4 separate regions of the Homo sapiens genome follow, and regions 1, 3 and 4 are each linked to region 2. Evidence: promoter capture Hi-C in human tissues and cell types (Jung and others, 2019). All regions are on one chromosome and are shown on one strand. The core of a region is centred on a gene start or on the middle of the fragment in contact, and the rest is flanking DNA. Distances in the headings are between cores, read along the strand shown.

Region 1 (3,348 bases), core at 452-2,951, 590 kb before region 2:
TCCCGGGTTCAAGAGATTCTCCTGCCTCAGCCTCCTGAGTAGCTGGGACTACAGGCGCGTGCCACCACACCCAGCTAATTTTTGTATTTTTAGTAGGGACGGGGTTTCGTCATGTTGGCCAGGCTGGTCTCAAACTCCTGACCTCAGGTAATCCACCTGCCTCGGCCTCCCAAAGTGGCTCCCAGGCGTGAGCCACCGCGCCCAGCCTATTCTTTCTCTTTAGCAATAGAGTCAGCACGCTCCATTACCCGCCAGTTATCTTTTAAGAGAAAATACAAGGCTTCAAATGCACCTGTACGACATCTAAGAGTGCTCTGGCAGAGTCACACCTCTGCAAGGTTAGAGATGTCAAAGGGAGTCCTGGTCTAGCCAGAAATGGGAGAGTGACAAAGTACAGGTGCTTGGGTCGGGTGGGATGGCTCACTCCTGTGATCCCAGCACTTTGGGAGGCCGAAGTGGGAGGATCACTTGGGCCCAGGAGTTCGAGACCAGCCTAGGCAACATAGTGAGACCTTGTCTCTATTTTTTAAAAAAATTAAAAAAGAAAAAAAAAAAAAGCGGCTCTAGCACTTTGGGAGGCCGAGGCAGGCGGATCACCTGAGGTCAGGAGTTCGGGACCAGCCTGGCTAACGTGGTGAAACCCCGTTTCTACTAAAAATACAAAAAATTAGCCGGGCGTGGTGGCGGGCGCCTGTAATCTCAGCTACTCGGGAGGCTGAGGCAGGAGAATCGCTTGAATCCTGGAGGCGGAGGTTGCAGTGGGCCGAAATCGCGCCATTACACTCCAGCCTGGGCAACAAGAGTTAAAAAAGAATGCCTCACAAAAATTCAAGAAATACAGCGACTGCAGATGGGTCGGTTTCACTACAGCACAAGCAGCGGAAAAAGGACACAGATCGGGGAGAAATCACCCTACAAAGATGACAACTGAGGAATGCGGAGTGGGGACTGACACACGTTACGGTGAAACCGTGCACCACGACCAAAGGCGGTCCTAGGACTGCGACTATGTGGGCGCAGAGGCCACCCCCCAGGCTTGGCGGGCGAGTAAAGGCAGGGCTGGGGGCCTGCTCAGTGTGGCCTTAGGGAGGAACTTCGGGGGTCTCCTCTCTCCCCATCGAATCCCTGAGCAGTTCCCGAACAGAAATCGGAGACCAGACGGTGCCTGGGCCCCAGCCCTCCCACGGGGACTGCACCTTGGGCCTGGCTCGGAAGCGGGTCAGAGTCTGCGAAAGACCAGCGAGGACTCTTGGGTTTCGGGGCAGGCCGCGGGCGCCCACCCACGCCAGCACCGGGAGCCGCGCGGCGACTCGGCGAGCCCGGCAGGCAGGACAGGACTGCGGCGCAGGTCTGGCTCAGGCGGAGGAAGCAGCCGCCGCCCCAGCTGACGGAGTGCGGCCGGGGGCTTCCCAGAGGAGGCGGCGACGTCGAGCCCTTTCGAACGTTTCCACCCGGCTAGCTCACGTAGCCTCGGCCCCGCCCGGCCCCGCCCGGCCCCGCCCCACCCACTCCGGCCACCGCCCCCTCCCCGGCCTACAGTTCGCGGGTGGGGCGACCTGCGACAGCCCCTTTAAGAGGCGTGGTCACGTGCTCCGCCCCCACCTCCGCCTCGCGCGCCAGTAAGGGGTGGGGTGCGGGAGGAGGTGCCGGGGAGGTGGGGGGAGCGAAGTGTGCGCTGCTGCGCAGGCGCGGTGGTCGGACGACAGACCGTGTGTTTCCAAAATGGCGGCAGCGATGGATGTGGATACCCCGAGCGGCACCAACAGCGGCGCGGGCAAGAAGCGCTTTGAAGTGAAAAAGGTTGGGTCTCGCCAGCGCCTTCCTCAGGGAAGCTAGAGAGGCGCGGATCTGGCTGGCAGGCCCGAGGATGGTCGAGGCGCGGAGTAAAGGGTTTCATTTCAGGGCGTTCCTGGGACCGGGTACCACGAAAGGAAGCCGGGGGGCGGGTCTTAGAGTTGATCGGCGTGACGGCGGCCCACTGTTGGGGGAAGTGTTGGTTTCGCTGTGAGGCTAAGGGGCCAATCACAGAGCTGCTTATTGAGATACGCGGGGTTGCGACTTGGCGGCGGGAGCCAAGCGCTTGAGCTGTCACTGGAGTGGTTGAGAGGTGGGGGAAGGACAGGGTAGGGTGGGGTGGGGTGGGTGGAATGGGGAGTCGAAGCGAATGCGGCGGTGGAGGATGGGGCAGTGCGGCGAGAGCCTGGAACCTGAGGTCCTACCGCATTAGAGGCCTCTGAGGACCCCCCTTGGTGATCTTGCTCCGCCCCTTTTTGAAGCTTGGGGTCCTCTCACTTGGAGGGGTCCTCTCACTTGGAGGGATCCTCGCTGAACCGAGGCCTCACACTGCCTGGTTAGAGTCTGGAGTGTAATGCTTGGCTCTTCTGAGACGTCTGTTGGCTTTTCACACAACCACCCCACTCTTGGGTTCTCTGTCACGTCCAGAATCTCCCCCTTCCAAAATAATAATAAAAAGCATGGTGGAACTTGTTAAGAAAATCCGAGCCCAAATCCTGTGGCAGTTAGGGAGGGTTGAGTACTAGTCGCGAACGACTTGGTAAGCGTGGGAAAGCAAAAATGGAACGTGTCTTTTTGCATGAAATGCCTTTTAGTGGTTTGCCACAGTTTGGGAGAACAGTATCGATTCTCACCTAACATGAAAGCTGTTCAAAATGGAGATTCTAAAATAGGGAAGATATTCCTAGAACATCTGGCTAAACACTGACAATATCCCCCGTCCTAGTGCTTTTTGGTGTCTCATTGTGGCCACTGCTGCTCAGTTACAGCCAGCAGCCATATTGAAAAATAATAGAAGTAGGGGCTTTTCCTCCACCTTGAAGCTGTGATGTGAAAAGTGGTAAAGAAGTTACTAGGCACTGAGAATGGGGTTTGAAAGCGAAGAAGGTTTGGGAGTATTTGTAATTGAGGAAGCCAGAGTTGAATGAATGAAATTCTGTTAAACTCTTACTGGAATTATTATCTTAATAGAAGAGTCTAAACATATAAAAGTTGAGAACATCAGTTTATTTTATGGTAAGAATCAAAATTCTAGTGAATTGTAGAATTTGTTATGAAGTAATCTAAGATTTAAGTGATGACCTTGTTCTGTGTACTGACACGGGTATTTAATTATCCAGCTTATCCCATGATTACCCATTTTATGATCCAGTCATTATCTTAGTTCATTCTGTTCTCTAGCTTTCACTTCATTGCTCATGCTTCCAGAGCTGTGTAGAGCAGATACTTATTCAGATTTTGAGCTCTTCTGCAACTGCCACCAAAACCTGCACAGAAATTCAAGTTTGTGCCCTTTTTTTTTTTTTTTTTTTTTTTTTGAGATGGAGTCTCACT
Region 2 (3,430 bases), core at 94-2,593:
AAAAGTCTAAGAAGGAAAGAGAGTGATGTGACACAGAATACCTGGAAAGGGAGGACTGTCAAAGAAACGGCAGTGGGAAGACCTCTCAGCTGGTACTAAGGCACACAGGCACAGCACAGAGAAGGCGCACAAATATTGGCTGCTGGAATGAAGGGATGAACCTCCTGACAGTTAATTCTGTACTACTAGAACTCTCCATCTTCACGAAAACAATGCATTGACCCGAGGCGATGGCGCACACCTGTAATCCCAGCACTTTGGGAGGCCGAGGCGGGGGGATCAAGAGATCGAGACCATCCTGGCCAAAATGGTGAAACCCCGTCTCTACGAAAAATACAAAAATTAGCTGGGGGTGGTGGCGCGCGCCTGTAGTTGTCCCAGCTACTCGGGAGGCTGGGGCAGGAGAATCGCTTGAACCCGGGAGGCGGAGGTTGCAGTGAGCCGAGATCGCGCCACTGCACTCCAGCCTGGACGAAAGAGCAAGACTCCGTCTCAAAAACAAAAAACAAAACAAAACAAAACAAACAACAACAACAACAAAAACAATGCATGGCTGGAAGGACAGCAATATTTTATCCCCATTTTAAAAATGGAAACTGAGGCCCAGAAGGGGTCAGTAACTTGCCTGCAATTGCAAAGTAATTTAGAATTGTGGAATCTAACACTTCCAGTTACAACTCCCTTTTTCAAGCCCATTTTCTTTTGATCCCCTTCAATATCTCCTTTCACGGTGAAGAAAAGTTCTGAGACATTAAGCTGCTTGCCCACGGCCAGGGCTTGGCATGACCGAGGCCGGGCCTGCGGCCAGTGGGCGGCGCTCGCTCTCCCACGCCAAGGCCTGCCCGCGAGCCGTGGGCCCAGTACCTTGTTGGCCAACTTCTTGTTCAGCTCCTCGGCAATGGAGTCGTTGAGCTTCCTCTCAAACTGCCAAGGGGGGATCCGGACGGTGTCCACCATTTCCACCAGGACGAACATCCCGGCCTGCGCTGGGGGCTCTGGGAACAGGAGGGTCAGTCACGCACCAGGGCCGGGGGCAGGGAGAATCCCCGAGCCCCTTGGTCCCGTCCCAGTCGCTGAGGCCCCCAGGCTGGCGGTGAGGTTGCACGGGGCGGTCTCGGGGGCCCGGTCCGGGCCATGCTCCGCTACTACAACATGAGGAAACTGAGGCCAGAGGGAGGCACTCTCCGTCCACAGCTCCGGGTGCGCGCCCGCGCCGCGAGACCCCGCCACGCCACGCCACTCCACGCCACGCCACTCCACGCCCCGCACCCGCGCCACGTGCCGCCGCTCGTATCACGCACCACGCACCACGCACCGCGCACAGCCGCTCGCGCTTGCGCGACTGCGGGCGAGATTCCGAATCCATCGCTTCCGGAAAACTCACCAATAAGAAACCTCTGTCCACCCCCACCCCGCCGAGGCGGGGCGGGGCTGCCTGTGTGCTCGCGCACAGCGTGGGGCAGAGAGAGGGCGAGGAGAGGGCGGGGCCTCCTCCTTTCACAGGAGCAGAGCGGTTCCCCCGCCCCCGACAGCGCTTTCTGTTGCTAGGCGACCTCCGTGCAATCCCGCCTGATTATCCCTCGCCTGGCCTGTGCTTTACCCGCATTGCTGTCCTCTGCTCGGCAGCCAGAGTGATCCTTTGGAAACGCAAACATATATTACCACATCTAAGTTAAAAAAAAAACCCACCGCAAACATAACATGCTTAGCACCCTTAAGTGTTCCGGAGACAAGGAGAATTAGCAGGAAAGGGGCACTTGGGACTGTTCTGAGATGATGGAAATGTTCTGTATTTTGTTTTCGGTGGTATAACATTGACGTATATAATTGTCCAAACTAATTGAACTCGGCAAGATTTTTGCATTTATTTGTAGACATTATGTTCCAATTGAAAAGTTATAATAAATTGGAACAAAAAACACAACCCATTGAACTTAGAATACTAGATCCAAGCCGGGCGTGGTGGTGTACACCCGTAGTCCCACCTACTCAGAAGCCTGAGACAGCAGCATCGCTTGAGTCCAGGAGTTTGAGGTTGCAGTTTGAGGTTGCATGCTGCACTCTAGCATGGGTGACAGTGACACCTCATGTCTAAACGAAAAAGAAGAAGAAGGAGAGGCGGAAGAAGAAGAAAGAAGAAGGAGAAGAAGAAGAAGAAAGAAGAAAGAAAAGGGAAAGAAGAAAGAAAAGAAGAAAGAAAGAAGAAAAGTCCAAAACCTTTATGGTAGTTCACACGGCCCTGCAAGATCTGACCATACCCCCCTCCTATAGCCCCATCATGCTCTGTCTCGCTGACATTCCAGTCTCATTCATCTTCACGTGATAGCATGGGCTAAGAGAATTTGGTAGCTTACCCAAGATCACGTGTTGACAAGTGGTAGAGGTGGGCCCAGTCTGAACCTCACTACCCTGCCTCTAAAAATTGGTGGGGTGTAGATGTATACTGTAGTGGGTTTTTTTGTTTGTTTGTTTGTTTGAGACGGAGGATCGCTCTGTCGCCCAGGCTGGAGTGCAGTGGCGCGATCTTGGCTCACTGCAAGCTCCGCCTCTCGGGTTCACGCCATTCTCCTGCCTTAGCCTCCCGAGTAGCTGAGACTACAGGCGCCCACCATCACGCCTGGCTAATTTTTCGTATTTTTTTTTAGTAGAGACGAGGTTTCACCGTGTTAGCCAGGATGGTCTCGATCTCCTGACCTCATGATCTGCCCACCTCAGCCTTCCAAAGTGCTGGGATTACAGGTGTGAGCCACCGCGCCCGGGCTTGTAGTGTGTTTTAACCAAAATAACAATTTAGGTACTTACAAAAGATACTTGGGGTAAATGACAGAGGCACTTGGAAATGTATGGTGCCTTAATTTGCTGATTTCACAAGCATAGTGATCTCTCAGTGACACTGGCTGCAGTGATGCTAAATGTGGCCTTCCCTGCATCTATGATTTTATTTTTAGGTGTGCTTCTATAGGATTTGAGGTACTTGAGGACAGCAGCAAATGCTACTTCAGCTCTTTATTCCCACAATCCCCTAACACATTCCTAGGAAGCATTGAGTAAAGGTGTTTAGGGATTACCATTAATTCTTCCTCTCAAATGTTTCCTCTTCATTCCACTCCCACTGCTATTGCTTCGGTTCAGGCCTTTTCTTTTTTTTTTCTTTTGAGACGGAATCTTGCTCTGTCGCCCAGACTGGAGTGCAGTGGCATGATCTCAGCTCAATGCAACCTCCACCTCCTGGGTTCAAGCGATTCTCCTGCCTCAGCTTCCCAAATAGCTGGAATTACAGGTGCCCACCACCACACTTAGCTAACTTTTGTATTTTTAGATAAGATTTCACCATGTTGGCCAGGCTGGTTTCGAACTCCTGACCTCAGGTGATCCCCCCCATCTTGGCCTCTCAAAGTGCTGAGATTACAGGCATGAGCCACCGTGACTA
Region 3 (2,959 bases), core at 1-2,500, 680 kb before region 2:
CAAATTCTTATTAGCACCAACTGTCACCACAAACTCATCCTTTTCTGACATACCCATTCAAAAAAACTACTAACCAAATGTCCACAATCCTGCTAAAAGTGTTGAAAAGCTCTTAGTATAGTATTAAGTGTTATCTACAAAATTTGTGATTAACCAAAACACACACAATTGTGTTCAAATGTTATATATTTGAAGAGTCAATTTAACAATTCCTTTTGGTAGACTTCTTTTGCACCTCTTTACGCTTCTTTTTTTTCCTCTTACCACCCTCTTTGACTCCTGCTGAGAAAATAGGGGGATCTCTGTTGCTGGTAACCCAAGATATACCTCCCTCATCATTGTCCACGAAAGTATATTGAGATACATGTTTGGAGCTGTGAGAATTTGGTGAATAGTTGTTGAATGACTGTGTTCTCCAGCTGCATTCTTTTGCAAAGCCCTCTTCATTGGCCACACTATTTACAAGAAAAAATGTCAACTCTCCATTATCTTCAGCTTCTCTTTCTTGATCACTTTCAATAATTTTCTTTGTATTAATATTTCTGCCATTAACGATTTTGTCTGAAGTTGTAACAGATATGTAGTTGTCCATCCCACTATTATCAAAAGCCAGGGAAGAGAAAGAAGTAAGGCCTTCATGCCCCAATGAACCCTGTGATGTATATCCTGTATCATATGAAGAAAATTTCTCAAAAATTGGATATTCACTGGCAGTGGAGAAAAAGTATCCTGCATCTCTGTTTCTGTTTCCATAGGAGCTTCCTGGACGATTTAACAGGTCCTCAAGCGAGTCTTCAAAGAAGTGAAAAGAAAATGGATCCCTTTCATGAAAAATTTCTTTAAAAACATCATCTGGCTTATGGAATGTGAAGCCGTACTCACATTCATCATCAAAATGACTTCCACCTCCGTTTAATCCTTCTGTGCCATATTTATCATAAATGTCCCGTTTCTCATCATTTGATAATACCTCGTATGCCTCAGCTACTTCTTTGAATTTTCTCTCTGCTTCTTCTTTATTTTCTGGATTTTTATCAGGGTGCCATTTAAGTGCCACTTTATGATAAGCTTTTTTAATGTCCTCAGGTGAAGCATATCTTTGCAGTCCTAGAACTTCATAGTAATCCACCATGTTTTAACAGATAGTTGGAAGTGGGTGTGCTGGGTATTGAGAACCGTGGTTTCCTCAGCTCAGGCTCTGCTGGTGGTGGTGATAGAGGTAGTGACTGCAAATAGGTACACTTTTATGTTAAAGACAATGTTATTACCATGTGCTAAGAGATGAGGATACTGATTATGTGGCAAGCAGAGTTACAAATATGTCAGAGAGGGCTGCATTATGGTGTCATTCTGGGGTCAGTGTAGGGACTGGACCTTCCAAATAGAGCTAGTCCAGAGTCGTACCAGACCATCCTGAATCCTCTGGACTGTTTCCCCTGTATGTTTCCCTGGAAGCTTCAGGCAGTGCCTCATAAGCCAATGGAATCTGTTGCTAATAGCCACAGCATATCCCTTGCATAATATGACCTCTAGATTACTGCGCCTTAATTGCTTCCCAGCTCTTCTATGCTTTGGTTTAGAAAAATGAAGTACTGACTTACGGGTGAAGAAAGTATTCAAACAGTTGACATATTTATTTCAGTCAAGAAACAGTTCAGAGGGAGATACAAACAAGTAACTTAGTTACAATATAATAGTTATGATGAGAGGAAGTACTGGATGCTAAACAATTATATGAGAGACAGCTCAGGCTGGGGGTGTCAATGAAAGCCTCTTGGAGGAAGTAGCCTGATATGTTAACTTTCTGCATGCCAGTGGTAAGTCATTTGAGATTATAGTATCTTTGTCCACCCAAGGTTTACTGCTGTAAAACATGTAATTAAAGATTTGGAAAGTTGTGTGTTTATGTATTCACTGTATAATTATTGATTGTCTACTTTGTGCCAGGCACCGTTTTAGCCACTGGTGATAGCAGTATTGAACAAAAGACACCAGTTTTCCTGGTGCTTGCATTATAATAGAATACAAATAGGAGAACAAATAAAATAATTTAAGATAATGCGATATGTGCTCCAAAAAAAATAGCAATGTGCTGGGGGCAGAGCGCTACTTTAGATTGGTTTTAGAAGGCTTCTGAGGAGATGACATTATTGCTGAGACCTATATGACAGTCAGCCACATAGTGATCTAATATGGTAGCCACTGGCCATGTTGATGGACATTTTGGTTGTTGCCAGTTGGGGCTGTTGGACATAAAGCTAGCACTTATTTCAAGTACAGTGGGAAGCCTTTGTGGGGAGTGGGGAATATGCAAGTTTAATGATGTGATTTACATTTGTAATGGATCAGTGGCTACTATTTGGAAATTCAGTCATGTATGGGAAAGTAGAATTCGAGAGCCAAATTAGAAACAGACCAAAGGTGATTTTCTTTGGGGATAAACTACCAGTAGTCTAGACCCGAATTTAAAGGTCTTATATTCTATACCTGGCTCATTTTATTGTCTGAGAAAATTCCCTGTAATCTTTGTTTTTCCTCCTCTATGTTGTGTTTATTTTATTTTCCATCACATTTATAACCCCTCAGTTAAATGATACGCTAATGAAATCTAAAACTGTAGTGTATGCTTCTAGTCTTTCAAGACCATTTGTCAGGTCTGAATATTTTTTTGCTTTGCATTTTTATATATACTCATTTTTTAGAGGTATTGTGAAATGCTTAAAACTCAATTTAAATTCTCTCCAGTGTATGTGCTTACATGTACTTATGTGTGGCTTACCCATGATTATAATTTGCCTACCACTGGAAATAATAACCAATAATGTCGAAAATTATTTGAGTACCCTCTGAGTCACACTGTAGCAAGTGCTCATTTAACTGACACAGCACTCTAGCAAAATAAATATTTTATGCCCATAAGAAAACAGACGTTCTGAGAGAGAAAGTAATTTGTCTAAGG
Region 4 (3,312 bases), core at 716-3,215, 730 kb before region 2:
CTGGAGATCCCTAAAAGTCCCCAAATCCTTTCTAGGAGGTTTTGTAGGATTAAAAACCTTTTCATAAGAATCATTATGAAATAATAAAATGCTATTTGCCTTTCTCATTCTTATTCTCTCACAGTGTGTAGCAAAATTTTCCAAAGGCTATGCATAAATGTGTGATATTGCAACAGACTGAATTCAGAAGCAGATAAAAGGATCCAGCTATCTTCTATCAAGTCAAAGAGAGGTTTGCAAAACTATACATCAATGCCATTCATCTTATGACGTTTTGGAAAATATGGTTTAAAAAATATAGCTTATGTATGTTAACATGTAATGGATGTATTTTACCTTTTTTTTTTTGTAGAGGCGAGACAACATTGGAATTTTAGGTATGAGCAACCACACCCAGCTAATGTATTTTTAATGATTTTTAATGAATTAACAAATATCTTGGCCGGGCTCAGTGGCTCATGCCTGTAATCCTAGCACTTTGGGAGGGCGAGGTAGGAAGACTGCTTGAGGCCAAGAGTTCAAGACCACCATGGCCAACAACATAGACCACATCTCTTTAAAAAAACAAACAAACAAAAAGGCTCACACCTGTAACCCCACTTTGGGAGGCCGAGGTGGGCGGATTGCTTGAGCCCAGGAGTTCGAGACCAGCCTGAGCAACATGGTGAAACATGTAGAAACCCAGTCTCTACAAAAAAATTAAAAAAAAAAAAATTAGCCAGCGTGGTGGTGCACGCCTGTAATCCCAGCTACTTGGGAAGCTGAAGTGGGAGAATTGCTTGAGCCTGGGCTGTTGGGGCTACAGTAAGCTGAGATTGTGCCACTGCACTCCAGCCTGGGTACACAGTGAGACCCTGTCTCAAAAAAAAAACCAAAAAACAAAACCAAATATCTCAATGATTTCTCAGTTTTAATTTCTAACACAATAATATTGATTGTTATAACCACATAAGCAAGACTCTGGGGTTGGTGAAAATTTTTAGGAGTGTGAATGGGTCCTATGAGTATAGTTTGAACAGAGGCCATTAACTACAAAAAAAATACATTATTAACAAACTTCATTATTATATACTATCATCTAACCTGACATCATCACACTACCTCTGGGTTGGCCACTGTCCTTTCCAGGAAAACTCTATAAAAAGGTAAATACCTCCAGGAAGCTATATATTATATAGGATATTAATTATATCCTACAATTAATGTCTTACAGATGATCATTTATTAGGGTTTTTTTAAAATGATGGGCTGTGATATTATGATGCAAAGTATATATCTGGTCCTCATCCTAGGCTCCTGACACAGAGCTCCTGGTAAAATTCTTGTAATTTCCTGAATGATAGGAATGTCTTTTGTTATAATAGTGTCTTAGTCCCTGGTTCCTGATACAAGAGCATCCAAGACCCTTGGAATCTCCAGAGTGCTAACAGTGTCTTTTTGTATACTGGTGGTCCCTATCTTTTAGTGCATTAATTGCATCTTCAGCTGTATCTAATATGTTCAGAAATCTGTGCTTGAATCTGAACATATCACTAAGCTTCAACAATTAACAAATTCATAGCTATGCATTAAATATTCTTTTTTTTTTTTTTTTTGAGACAGAGTTTCACTCTTGTTGCCCAGGCTGGAGTGCAATGGCGTAATCTCAGCTCACTGCAACCTCCGCCTCCCGGGTTCAAGTGATTCTCCTGCCTCAGCCTCCTGAGTAGCTGGGATTACAGGCATGCGCCACTACGCCCGGCTGATTTTGAGTTTTTAGTAGAGACACGGTTTCTCCATGTTGGTCAGGCTAGCCTCAAACTCCCAACCTCAGGTGATCCGCCCACCTTGGCCTCCCAGAGTGCTAGGATTACAGGCGTAAGCCACCGAGCATTAAATATTCTAATAGTAAATTTTTAATCGATCAAAGCAAAGCATGCACATAGTTTAAAAAATCACATAGTATAAATGACAAAATATAGCAGTTTTTGCCCCACTCCTCTCTATTTTATCCAATCTTCCTTCAGAGAGGCAATTAAATTCTTCTAGTTGTTTGTTTTGGAATTTATACATCTCCATATAATAATATACTGATATCTTATTAATCATTTTTAGACATTATTTACATTCTCTTATGGGGAATGAGAATTCAGCTCTCTTATACCACATTCCCTCTTTTTTTGTGGTTATTGTTTTGAGACAGGGTCTCACTCTATTGCCCTGGCTGGAGTGCAGTGGCACAATCTCAGCTCACTGCAACCTCCACCTCTGGGTGGAGGTCAATTAATCCTCTCACCTCAGCCTCCCAGGTAGCTGGGACCACAGACGTGAGCCACCACACCCAGCTAATTTTTGTATTTTTTGTAGAGACAGGGTTTTGCCATGTTGCCCAGGCTGGTCTTGAATCCCTCTCTTTATTCTCTCCATCCTTCTAATAGTTAAGATTTTTGCTTAAATCAATATTCAGTGTTCCCATGATTATCATGTATTAACTTTTATTTTTAATTTTTGTTTTTTTTTTTAGTAGAGATGCGGTTTCACTGTGTTGGTCAAGCTGGTCTCAAACCCCTGGCCTCGAGTGATCTACCCGTCTCAGACTCCCGAAGTGCTGGGATTACAGGAGTGAGTCAATGAGCCTGGCCAATCGTGCAGTAACTTTTAAATTGTAGTCATTTTATTTCTAGATTTCTTTTTTTTTTGAGACAGGGTCTCATTCTGTCGCCCAGGCTGGAGTGCAGTGGTGCAATCGTGGCTCACTGCAACCTTGGCTTCCCAGACTCAAGTGATTCTCCAGCCTCAGACTCCTGAGTAGCTGAGACTACAGGTATGAGCCAGCACAGTGCTGGCATCTGCTTCTGGTGAGGGCCTCAGGTGGCTTATGATCATGGTGGAAGGTGAAAGGGGAACAGGTATGTCACATGGTAAGAGAGGGAGTAAGAGAGAGAGGCGTGGGTACCAGGCTCTTTTAAATAACCAGCTCTCCCATGAACTAACAGTGAGAACTCACTCATCACCAAGGGGATGGCACCAAGCCATTTATGAGGGATCTGCCCCCATGACCCAAACACCTCCCACTAGGCCTCACCTCCAACACTGGGGGTCACATTTCAACATGAGATTTGGAGGGGTCAAACATCCAAACTGAGATTTGGAGGGGTCAAACATCCAAACTGTATCAGTCACATAAACGATTTTTAGCCTAAGTTCTTGGGGATTTGGGGGTTCCTCTTTTTTGTGAACAATTCTGAACTGACACCTGGATTTCTTTCTTTTTCTCTTTTTCTTTCTCTCTCTCTCTCTCTCTCTTTCTTTTTAACTTATTTATTTTTAGAG

Evidence for each region. The method cuts DNA at HindIII sites, captures the fragments that hold promoters and counts their contacts. A contact is called where the count stands out against the background at its distance.
Region 1: the fragment with the promoter of RBX1 here is called in contact with the fragment with the promoter of POLR3H in region 2 in 2 of the 25 tissues and cell types used here (dorsolateral prefrontal cortex and spleen).
Region 3: the fragment with the promoter of DNAJB7 here is called in contact with the fragment with the promoter of POLR3H in region 2 in 1 of the 25 tissues and cell types used here (dorsolateral prefrontal cortex).
Region 4: a contact is called between a fragment that was not itself captured here and the fragment with the promoter of POLR3H in region 2, in 2 of the 25 tissues and cell types used here (dorsolateral prefrontal cortex and hippocampus).

Annotation. Positions count from the first base shown.
Region 1 is chr22:40,949,677-40,953,024 of GRCh38, forward strand. It overlaps RBX1 (ring-box 1), which reads left to right and starts at 1,702. Exons shown (of 5, transcript NM_014248.4): 1 at 1,702-1,800. The coding sequence starts at 1,723. RefSeq lists enhancers at 664-1,254, 1,769-1,978, 2,434-3,022 and a silencer at 1,139-1,718. The HindIII fragment of the contact is 18,244 bases long and covers 1-3,348 here.
Region 2 is chr22:41,543,127-41,546,556 of GRCh38, forward strand. It overlaps POLR3H (RNA polymerase III subunit H), which reads right to left and starts at 1,344. Exons shown (of 6, transcript NM_001018050.4): 1 at 865-1,344. The coding sequence starts at 975. RefSeq lists enhancers at 705-1,542, 865-964, 975-1,064 and silencers at 1,115-1,244, 1,435-1,534. The HindIII fragment of the contact is 26,348 bases long and covers 1-3,430 here.
Region 3 is chr22:40,860,863-40,863,821 of GRCh38, forward strand. DNAJB7 (DnaJ heat shock protein family (Hsp40) member B7) reads right to left here and starts at 1,251. Exons shown (of 1, transcript NM_145174.2): 1 at 1-1,251. The coding sequence starts at 1,132. The coding sequence ends at 203. All of the region lies in intron 1 of XPNPEP3 (X-prolyl aminopeptidase 3), which reads left to right. The HindIII fragment of the contact is 4,259 bases long and covers 1-2,959 here.
Region 4 is chr22:40,808,770-40,812,081 of GRCh38, forward strand. All of the region lies in intron 1 of SLC25A17 (solute carrier family 25 member 17), which reads right to left. Among named protein-coding and RNA genes, the nearest start is that of MIR4766, 3.5 kb to the right of the region's middle. The HindIII fragment of the contact is 9,431 bases long and covers 1-3,312 here.